Regions from separate parts of the Homo sapiens genome. Here region 1 is linked to region 2. Evidence: promoter capture Hi-C in 16 types of primary human blood cells and fetal thymus (Javierre and others, 2016). All regions are on one chromosome and are shown on one strand. Each heading gives the region's core, a stretch centred on a gene start or on the middle of the fragment in contact. The rest is flanking DNA. Distances are from core to core; before and after follow the strand shown.

What was found. Contacts are between HindIII fragments. The CHiCAGO score rates a contact against its expected background, and 5 or more counts as called.
Region 1: the fragment with the promoter of CRTC3-AS1 here is called in contact with the fragment with the promoter of IDH2 in region 2 in 1 of 17 cell types (fetal thymus); the score reaches 5.2 in fetal thymus.

The regions. Positions count from the first base shown.
Region 1 is chr15:90,715,513-90,720,393 of GRCh38, forward strand. CRTC3-AS1 (CRTC3 antisense RNA 1) reads right to left here and starts at 1,628. Exons shown (of 4, transcript NR_120372.1): 1 at 1,469-1,628. It overlaps BLM (BLM RecQ like helicase), which reads left to right and starts at 1,834. Exons shown (of 22, transcript NM_000057.4): 1 at 1,834-1,928. The HindIII fragment of the contact is 2,609 bases long and covers 1-1,828 here.
Region 2 is chr15:90,098,873-90,104,045 of GRCh38, forward strand. It overlaps IDH2 (isocitrate dehydrogenase (NADP(+)) 2), which reads right to left and starts at 3,596. Exons shown (of 11, transcript NM_002168.4): 1 at 3,404-3,596. The coding sequence starts at 3,518. IDH2-DT (IDH2 divergent transcript) reads left to right here and starts at 3,260. Exons shown (of 3, transcript NR_149130.1): 1 at 3,260-3,506; 2 at 4,508-4,580. RefSeq lists enhancers at 2,022-2,877, 2,878-3,732 and silencers at 2,267-2,316, 2,377-2,466, 2,957-3,026, 3,347-3,806. The HindIII fragment of the contact is 3,688 bases long and covers 1,281-4,968 here.

The sequences.
Region 1 (4,881 bases), core at 378-2,877, 610 kb after region 2:
AAAAAAAAAAGAAATGCAAATTGTTTTCAGTAGAATGCAATTGATTACTAAGCTGTGGATTTCATCAGTTCTGCCAGTTTTTGTATATATTTGTAGTTATTTCATTATTCCTCATTTGACTATGTGTGTGGTACTTTGAATTTTCCATTGAAGCAGTTGTAATCTTTCTGGATATCTCATTCATTAATGAGTTAAATAAAATCTCTAACATTTATTTTATATCTGTATTATATTTGATATTAAAATTATTCTTCAACAGTAGTATACAGTTATATGAATAAGCTGCAATTTATCTATTCATCTATTGGTGGACATCTGGGTTTTTTCCCTTTGGCTATTATGAATAAAGCTGCTATGAGTCTTTTGGTGAATAAAGGCATTCATTTTTTGGGGTAAATATCTAGAAATGGGATTTCTGGGGTATAGGGTAGGGGTAAATTTGATTTCAGTAGAGACTGATGTTTCCAAAGTGGTTGTACCATTTTACACTCCCATCAACACTGTATGAGAGTCCCATTTCTGCATCTTTGCAACTAAGGGAATTGTCAGTCTTTTCATTTCAGCTATTCTATGGAGTGTTTAATAGTATCATATTTTGGTTTCAATTTACCATAGAAGATTTTCAGGAGGGAGGTAACTTGAACAGATTTTTACATTTTAGAAAACTCTTTCTGCGTATTATGTGGAGAATGATTATTTGTATACCAAAGTTCATAGCAGCATTATTCACAATAGCCAAAAGGTGGGAATAACCAAGCATCCATTTATATGGATGAATGGATAAACAAAATGTAGTATACATGTATAATGGAATATTATTTAGCCTCAAGAAGGAAGAAATTCTGATACATGCTACAACATAGATGCTCCTTGAAGACATTATGCTAAGTGAAATAAGCCAATCAGAAAAGAGCAATTATTGTATGATTCAATTTATATGCGGTACCTCGCACTTACAGACAGAAAGTGCAATATCGGCTATAAGGGGTTGTGAGAAACGGGTAACGGGGAGTTACTGTGTAACAGGCAGATTTTCTATTTGGGATAATGAAAAAGTTCTGGAGATGGATAGTGGTGATGGTTTCACAACAATGTGAATGTACTTAATGCCAGTGAACTGTACACTTAAAAATGGTGAATTTTATGTTAGATAGATTTTATCACACACACAAAGAGGAGGGAGGGCGGGAGGGAAGGAGAGAGGGAAGGAAGTAGAGAGGGGAGAAGAGAGGAAGAAAGGAAAGAAAGTAAGATCTGGCATCACAGGGCCCACATTCCCGCGTGTCAGCAATAGGCTGAAACAGAAGCATGGTTTCTCACGTGTCCATGGAGGCATCTGAGTGTGTGCCCACTTTCCCGGTTCAATGACAATTTGCACCTGCTCGTGTAGAGGGGTACGGGTGAAACAGAGACCAGTATTATTAAGGGGATGGAGAGGAGAGACCGCCAAAACATCGCAGAGACACACCGTCGGAACCAAGAGAATGGGGTGCAGACGCCTGGCTTGGCCTGTGGGAACTGGCAAGTCTCAGCTCTCAAACGCCCGGGCTTTTCAACCCGCCACAGCCGGGTTCCAGCTGCCTACTTCCTTTAAAGCCTTCACCGACTCTAAAACACCAAAAACAAAGACCCAACTAGCTCCGGAAGCCCGAGATGTAACCGTAGTCATCTGACCCTCCCGTCCGGACTCTGATTGGGCTTTGGAGATACGCGTCCCTCCCGGCGCTGTACGGCGACCCCGCCCCAGCAGCCTGAGGGGGCGGGAACAGATGTCCGAGTGCGACAGTATTGGTCGGCTTCCCCAGGAAGCAGCCAATCGGAATAGGCAAGCTTCCGGCGGGAAGTGAGCCAGGGCTTGGCGCGGCGGCCGTGGTTGCGGCGCGGGAAGTTTGGATCCTGGTTCCGTCCGCTAGGAGTCTGCGTGCGAGGTGAGTACCGCGCGCGTAACTACGGGTCGGTCCGCATTGATCTAGCCCTGCTCTGGCGGCCCGGCCCGGAGCTGGAGGCCGCTCGGGTTCTTCCGTTTCCTGCACTGGTTCGCCTCGGCCCGCTGAGTCCTCTAGTCTGGCCAACATCCTGGGAGGACAGCAGATACATAAATACGTTCCCAAATGGGGAAACAGAGGCCCGGGGCGGGGGCGAACTCTGCCAAGGTCTCCCGGGGCGTCGGAGGCCGAGCATGGGCTAGGACCTGGCATGTTGTTGCCCATATACTCCAGTGCGTAACATGATGCCCTGCACAGAGTAATCCCAGCCCAGACCTCTGGCACTACTACCTCCGTGTCCCTCCTGAGGAACAACGAAAACACTTTGTACTTTTTCTGTGGCCTTCCATAATCACGAGCTGGGCTACTCTTGTTTTTGAGTGTCTACTGTGTGCCATGTTCCTGGCACCCTTGATCTTACAACTGTAGCTTTACGATATCCCAGCAAAGCGAAGTGCTTAAGAATACTGCATCAGATTGCTTGGGTTCGAATTCTGGCTCCTTCACATTTAGCTCTGTGTCTACTGCACGTTACTGAAACACTAAGTGTCTTGGTTTTCGTCTGTCATATGGGGGAAATGGTCTCTTCTACTTCCTGGCGTTTTTGTTAGGATTAAACGACTTAATATATGCAATAATAAATGCTTCGAAGGCTACCTGTTACATAGTACACAGTAAGGGTTCTGTTATCATTACCCAGAGAAGCGGATGAAATTGTCCCCATTTTAGACATGGAGAATCTGAAGTACAAAGAGGTTGTCTCCGTACAGAAAGAGCATTTGGTGATTAAGTGCTAGAGATACAGGATTTGAACTAAGCGCCTGATTTTAAAGTATGTCCCACAACATTAGGCTTTCTCCTATAGCCCTCACCTGTCCTTAGGTCACACAGAACTTTAGGTACCTCATGGCGTGAGATGGAGCAGGTGACTGACAGCTCCTTGTGCCACCCATGCAGATAAATAACACTGGTGTGTCACTGTCAAGATTAAGGGACAGGAATTCGAGAGACTGCATGAGAGATCAGAAGATGAAGAAGCGGGTAGGCAAAAGTATTCTGTTTGGGGAATAGTAAATAGAATTAATTAAATCAACATTTTGTTAGCTGGGCTGCTTATACTGTCAGACAGTAGCTTATAATCTACTGGGAAGAAATGAAATTTCTGGGTCCTGTGTCACTTTCAATGCCACTCACCATGACAGGTACCTTATAAGTATAGTTTACAGTCCTATCAGTAACCTGGAGAAGTAGTTATTTCCTTCGTTTTACTGAGGAAACCAAGAGTTAAAAAATCAGGAAAAGTGTTAGATGTGCAGTAGAACATCATCATGCTGGGAAGTTCTACACATCCGCTTCAGGACAGGTGGTATTACCTATGAGCAGGAAGGGAAGGGAAAAAGGTAAGGGGAATGAGTGATAGTTTATTGTTTTGATTTTTAAATTTTTATCTGTTTTTTCCTTTTTCATAGTCATTCCTGGAATGAGTGAGTTTGTTTTTGTTTTTGTTTTTGGGGGATGGAGTCTCGCTCTGTCGCCCAGGCTGGAGTGCAGTGGCGCGATCTTGGCTCACTGCAAGCTCCGCCTCCCGGGTTCATGCCATTCTCCTGCCTCAGCCTCCCAAATAGCTGGGACTACAGGCACCCACCACCACGCCCAGCTAATTTTTTGTATTTTTAGTAGAGACGGGGTTTCACTGTGTTAGCCAGGATGGTCTCGATCTCCTGACCTCGTGATCCGCCTGCCTCCGCCTCCCAAGGTGCTGGGATTACAGGCGAGCCACCGCGCCCGGCCATGAGTGAGATTTTAAATATATCTGAAATGAGGCCAGGCACAGTGGCTCACACCCATAATCCCAGCACTTTGGGAGGATGAGGCGGGCGAATCACCTGAGGCCAGGAGTTCGAGACTTGCCTCACCAACATGGCGAAACTCCCTCTCTATAGTAAATACAAAATTATCTGGGCGTGGTGGTGTGCGCCTGTGGTTCTAGCTACTGGGGAGGCTGAGGCACGAGAATCGCTTGAACCCAGGAGGCTGCAGTTAGTCAAGATTGCACCACTGCACTCCAGCCTGGGTGACAGAGTGAGAGTCCGTCAGTCAATCTACCTGAAATGTTTTATGCCTTTAAAAGAGAGAGAATAGGGCCGAGTTTAACTTTTTAAATTTGGTTGGTGGGTACATGGGTGTAATTCTATTTTCTGTATCTTTATGTAAGAAATATTAAAAATTAAAAGATATACATATATATTTTAATTTACATATATATGTGTTTTTTTCTAAGAGAAAAATGGATAGAATAAAGAGGTCCAAGATAATCGTAGAATAATCCTAGGACTTCAGTGCTGAAAGCCCCTAAGGGTCTCCACTACCTGTAGGATAAAATCTAAACTCCTTGGCATGATACCAGAGGCTTTTGAGCATTCTGTATCGCTAACACATACTATTCTACCTCAGCCTTTGTACCACTAGTTCATAGACTACTCTTCTTCACAACCTCAGTCCTGTCTGTAAAGTTCCACTTGTCCTTCAATATCCAATTCAGTGTTCTTTGAAAAGCTTCTCTATCATTTGCCTGTTTTTCCTTAATCTGGGAAGCCATAGTCTTTTAAGAAAAGACTTGATTGTCAGACTTATCTCGTTGCATTGTAATTATTTGTTGACATGTCTATTTTCTGCTAGTCTATAAGCTCCTTGAAGGCAGTAATAATGTCTTTCCCATCTCTGTACTTCAGTGCCTACCATGATGCCTGGCACAGAGTAGTCACTGTAGATATTAGCTGAATGAAAAATACAAGTTGAAGACAGAGAGTGAAAGTTCTTGGAGTTATGACATATGGACTTTGTTCTCTGGAATGACAGGGAACTATTGAGTTTACTTTCTTTAAAAATTCCCGTA
Region 2 (5,173 bases), core at 2,346-4,845:
GTCATCCTTCATTCCTTCCCTTCTCTCACATCCAAACCACCAAAACCAGAAGCCACCCTCAGACAAGCCCACCCTTGCCATAAGTGAGTGCCTGCTGCGTATCTAGATTTTTATGTAAAATCGCCTGAATTGGAACCTTTCCCCACTACTGGCTCCTCCTTCAAAATATATCCAGAATCCAACCACTTCTTCACCATCCCCAGCGCCACCACCCAGGTCCAAGCCATCATCCTCTCTTGCCAGGTCCCTGAAGCTAGAATGCTCCCGATAAGATGGAAATCAGGTAACGATACTCCTCTCAAAACCCTGCAAAGTAAAAGCGAAAGCTCTCAAAAATGGCCTGTGAGCCCTCTACAGACCCCACTGCCGAACCTCATCCTGTCACTCCACCTGGTGCCTGCTGAGCCAGCCTTCGCACCATCCTCTCTGCTCTTCCATCATGCCCTTGGCACCTGCGAGTCCCTCTTCCCCCAATACCGAAAATGGCCTGCTTCCTCCCCTCCTCAGCGATTCCTTCAGTGAGGACTTTTCTGGCTGCCCTATACAAACTTTTGTGCACACACCTTTCTTGCCTGTTTCTCCTTAGCTCTTCTCTTTTTGGGGGGAGAAGGGGGAGGCAGGGTCTTGCTTTGTCACCCAGGCTAGAGTGCAGTGGCACAATTGTACCTCACTGCAGCCTTGACCTCCTGGGCTCAAATGATCCTCCTGAGTAGCTAAGACCACAGACATGCACCATCGTGCCTGGCTAATTTTATTTTTTATTTTTGTAGAGATGGGGTCTCACTATATTGCCCAGGCTGGTCTGGAGCTCCCAGCCTCAAGCAATCCTCCCACCTCAGCCCCCCAAAATTCTGGGATTACAGGTGTAAGCCACAGTGCCTGGCCTTCCTTAGCTCTTGTACCCATATATCATACTAGTCAACATCTATCTTGCTTACTGTCTGCCCCCTCCCACATCAGAATTTGAGCTCCTAAGGGTTTTGAAAGAGTCTCTGCTGGTTTTATTCCCAGCTCTATCCCCAGCACCCGGCATGGTGTCTGGCACAAAGTAGGAGTATACTACTTTTGTCAAAGACATAAATAAAGGTCAAGTTGAAGTCAACTCCATCTGTGGTCAGGGCTGCCCTGCCCTCACCTTCTGTTTCACTGAATGTGTTTCCTCCCCTCTCACCCATCTGGTATGCATTGCCACACAGGGGCCAGTGAGTTCTTACCAGCAGCCTGCACCAGATGTACACGGGTGGCATCTCTCTCCAGCAATAGGCCCCATGCCCTGAAGAAGCTTACAACCTACAGTGTACTAATATTTGCAATCTGCTGGTATTTTTAACATGGGTTTACAGAGTATAAACCCCAGGGAAGGCCACAGACCCTGGCTTCCAGTAATCTGAGAGCAGTTTCCAGCACCTCATACCCTGAATGGAACCAGCCCAAGGGCCCTCAACTTCACACAGAAGATGTGGGAGCAGGCCTCAGCCATTCCAAAGAGGCTTTTCCTCAGTACCTACTAGGCCTAAACACAACCACCCCAATCAGCTCTGGCAGGGCAGCTAGGGCCTTATCTGACGTGGCAGAAAGATCTGCACACTTAAGGGGCAAGAATTAAGAAGTTTCTGGGTTAGGAGTGAAGGAAGGCTAGATAAGTAATTCTGCCACTGAGCCGTTCACAGAACTGGTCCGCACTGCCCCAAGCTCTAACTTACCAGAAACATCACCAGCAGTCGCTGGAAGCCTATGGCGTTGCAAAATAGGAAAAGATGCGTGCAGGAATTACCAGGCAGCAAAGACACGGGGCTCTTTTAGCCCCAAAATATTCTTTCCTTGTCATCAAGGGGAATGCCAAGTATTCTGTCTCCAGCTGCGTTGCCAGGTAACAAGCTGGCAGAGTCGCAACTGTAGAGTCTGATGTCCAACTCCAACACCAAGCAATTTCCCCATTCATAACCAACCCACATGGGGACTTCTAGAAGGGCCTGCAACTGACTGCTTTTTCTGTATCCAAATTCAGGACCCTTAAAAGGCGCTTTGTGTTCCTGTTTGTGTGTGTTTTTCGGGTTGTTTGTTTCTTTTTTTTTTTTTTACCATCAAGGCAGAAAAAAAGGGAGAATTAAAGAATGTGGCTAACTTCCACCATATTTTTGCTGAAGGTGGTGTGCTATATGGGAATCTTTGGGTCCTGGGGCACTTGGAACCTGGGAGTTGTTGGGCAGATCCCTGAGGTAGATTCCCAGAGGTACAAAAGCAGACATGCCCCTTTCTCCTTGGCAGGGAAGGTAGGACTGGGGCCCAAGCCTCCCTACCCCCCCGGCTCTAGTCAGCTGCTCCCACAATCCGGTTAACCATTACCTCCTCTGGCCAGGTCAGGGCCAGCGGGCCCCATCCCCTCTTCCTCACTCTCCTGGCTCACTGCAAGGGGCTCCTGGCCAGATTAGGATAGGGGTTTCCATGGCAACAGGCATTAGGCAGGGCCAAGGGACCTACATTGTTCCCTGCCTTTTGTAGCTGTGTTGGGTAGCCAGGGTGAGGGGGCAGGCCGATGCCCACACGCCAAGCAAGGCAGCCTGCGTTGGCAACGGAGGCTCGGGCTAAGTCTTGCTTATTACGACCCGACTACTGTCTTCCCTCCTAAGCAGGGAACTAAGGGTACCCAGAAGCCGTGGGAACGATTCCGCAAAGTGACATTTTGCGCGGGCTGCCAGGTCTCTGCGGCGAGTGAGCCAGGCAGGGAGGGCATGTGCCTGCCAAGGCAGGTCAAGTCAAGGAGAGGCCCCAGGATGGAGCCTCAAGTGCAGCGATGAAGGCGAAGGGGTGGGGGTGGGGGCGGCCAAACAAAAGGGGAAAATTAAAAAGGACGCTCCTCCAGCTGTCGTGTAAAAGGCTCCAAAAATAGCTGACGTGGGCCTGGTATCAGCGCGCGCCTGGCTGAAAAGGAAGGGGAAGTGCATGTCTCCCGCCTCCCAGCCTTTGTCTGAGCAGGGGCCGAGCCACGACCCTCCCTCTCGCCAGGGGAGCGCGCGGGGTGCTCCAGCCCCCCACGGGTGCTCGTCTCGTTCCAGGGGCGCAGGGCGGGCAGGCCACCCTTCGGGTCCGGGACACTCTCAGGACCCCCTCCCGAAATACCTAGGGGCGCGCGGCAGCCCCGAGCCCCCGCCCGCGCAGAGCTGGCCGTCGCCCGGGCCACCAGTTGCCACCGTCCCTCAAGTCCCCACCCCAGCGCCTGGCACGGCCGGGAAGCGCCGGGCGGGGGAGCGCGGAGCGAAGCTGCCCCGCGGCCCTTTGTGCGCCTGACCCCGCCGTCCCCGGGCTGCGGGCTGGCGGGACGTGCTTCCCGGCCCCAGCCTGGGAAGCCGCCACGTCGCAGCTGGGGGCGCGCGCCTGCCTGGACCCTCCGCGCGGCACTCACAGTGGCGCCGCGGCTGCTCTTGCGAGGTGGGGGCTGTCAGGGCCGCCGGCGCCCAGGCCGGCCGCGAGCCTGAGGCTCTGCAGAGCGAGCGCACGACCCGCAGGTAGCCGGCCATCCCAAGCTGGAGAGCGAACGAGCAGGGCGGGAGAGGTCCGAGCGCGCGCCGCTCCTCCCGGCTGCCTGGCCGCGGGCTAACGCTGGGCCTGGCGGGCGCTGGCCGCGCGGGCACCACCGGGGCGGGGCTGCCGGGCCTGCCGCCCCATTGGGCCTTGCCGGGGAGGAGGCGGGGCCAGGGCCGCCGACGCCTCCAGCGTCCCGCGGGAGCCGGGACCCGGCGGCCAGGCCCGGCTGGTGCTTCTCTGGGCGCCGCTGAAAGCCCAGCTCCGCAGGAGCTACAGGCGTGAGACCCACCGGGACCCGCGAGCGGGATCAGGGCTGGGGGATTAGCAGAGCCGCTTGCGAGGCTGACCCTCTCCAGGATGCCCCATGTAAACCTGGATGTCAGTTTCTGACGCTTTAGCTTAAACCCAAAAGCCAATCTGAGCGAACTCTTGCTTCCCTCGCCTGCCGGGCTGAACCCAAAGGCGCATTAGCCCAGTGCGGCTGCTTCATTCTTGAGCTAAGACCGCCGGCGGCGTCTGCGCCTCCGCGAGTCCGCTGTCAGGTCCAGCTGGTGTAGAGAGAGTTGAAATCTCACTTTGGGCCGGGCGCGGTGGCTCACGTCTGTAATCCTAGAACTTTTGGGAGGTCGAGGCAGGCGGATCACTTGAAGTCAGGAGTTCGAGACCAGGCTGGCTAACATAATGAAACCCCTGTCTCTACTAAAAATACAAAAATTGATCGGGCATGGTGGCGCGCGCCTGTAATCCCAGCTACTCAGGAGGCTGAGGCGGGAGAATCACTTGAACCTGAGAGGCAGAGATTGCAGTGAGCTGAGATCATGCCACTGCACTCCAGCCTGGGCAACAGAGTGAGACTCCGTCTCAAAAAAAAAAAAAAAAAACCACGAAAAAAGAAATATGATTGGACCAGAAGGCCAATAACCTGAGTGGGGAAACCCAGCAAGTCCTGTCCGTGTAGATTCTTCTTGACCTTTCTCTGCAGCATTCCTTCCTTCTGAGTACGGGGCAGGACTCTCTCTGGGATGGAGGGGTCTTAGGACCTGCAAGCAAACAAGGTAGGTCAGATAATTTATGGCCAGTTTTTACCCAGAAATGTGTGGGAGAAAGAGTAATATTTTTGGGTTCGATGTCTGGCTTTGGGGGAGAAGGGCTCTGGTTTCTATGACCTGCCTTGAGGAAGAAGGATTCCAGTTTCTATGGCTGGCCTCGGAGGAGAGTGAGGGGCCAAAGACAGGAGGGAGGGAGAGGGTCAGAGAGAGCTGCTCCTGAGGCCTGCATTTTGGGGTGTTGTTTTCTGAGACCCTAGAGTAGTCAAACAGCCACAGTAGAAACAGTTCCATTTTTGCCTGTTTGCATATAAAAGATGGGTTTGTTTGTTTGTTTTAATTAAAAATAGAGATGGGGGGATCTCACTATGTTGCCCAGGCTGGTCTCCAGCTCCTAAGCTTAAATGATCCTCCCGCCTCGGCCTCGCAAAGCACTGGGATTACAGGTGTGAGCCACTGCACCTGGCCACAAAAGACAGTTGTAATTGATTCTGCCACAAACAAAGTTTCTCTCTTCATCTGTTTTCTTAAACTAAGACACCAGCTGAGGGCTGGGTTTTATTTGGAAAAACCTGACCTCTTTCCCTTCTCTGCTTTCCCAG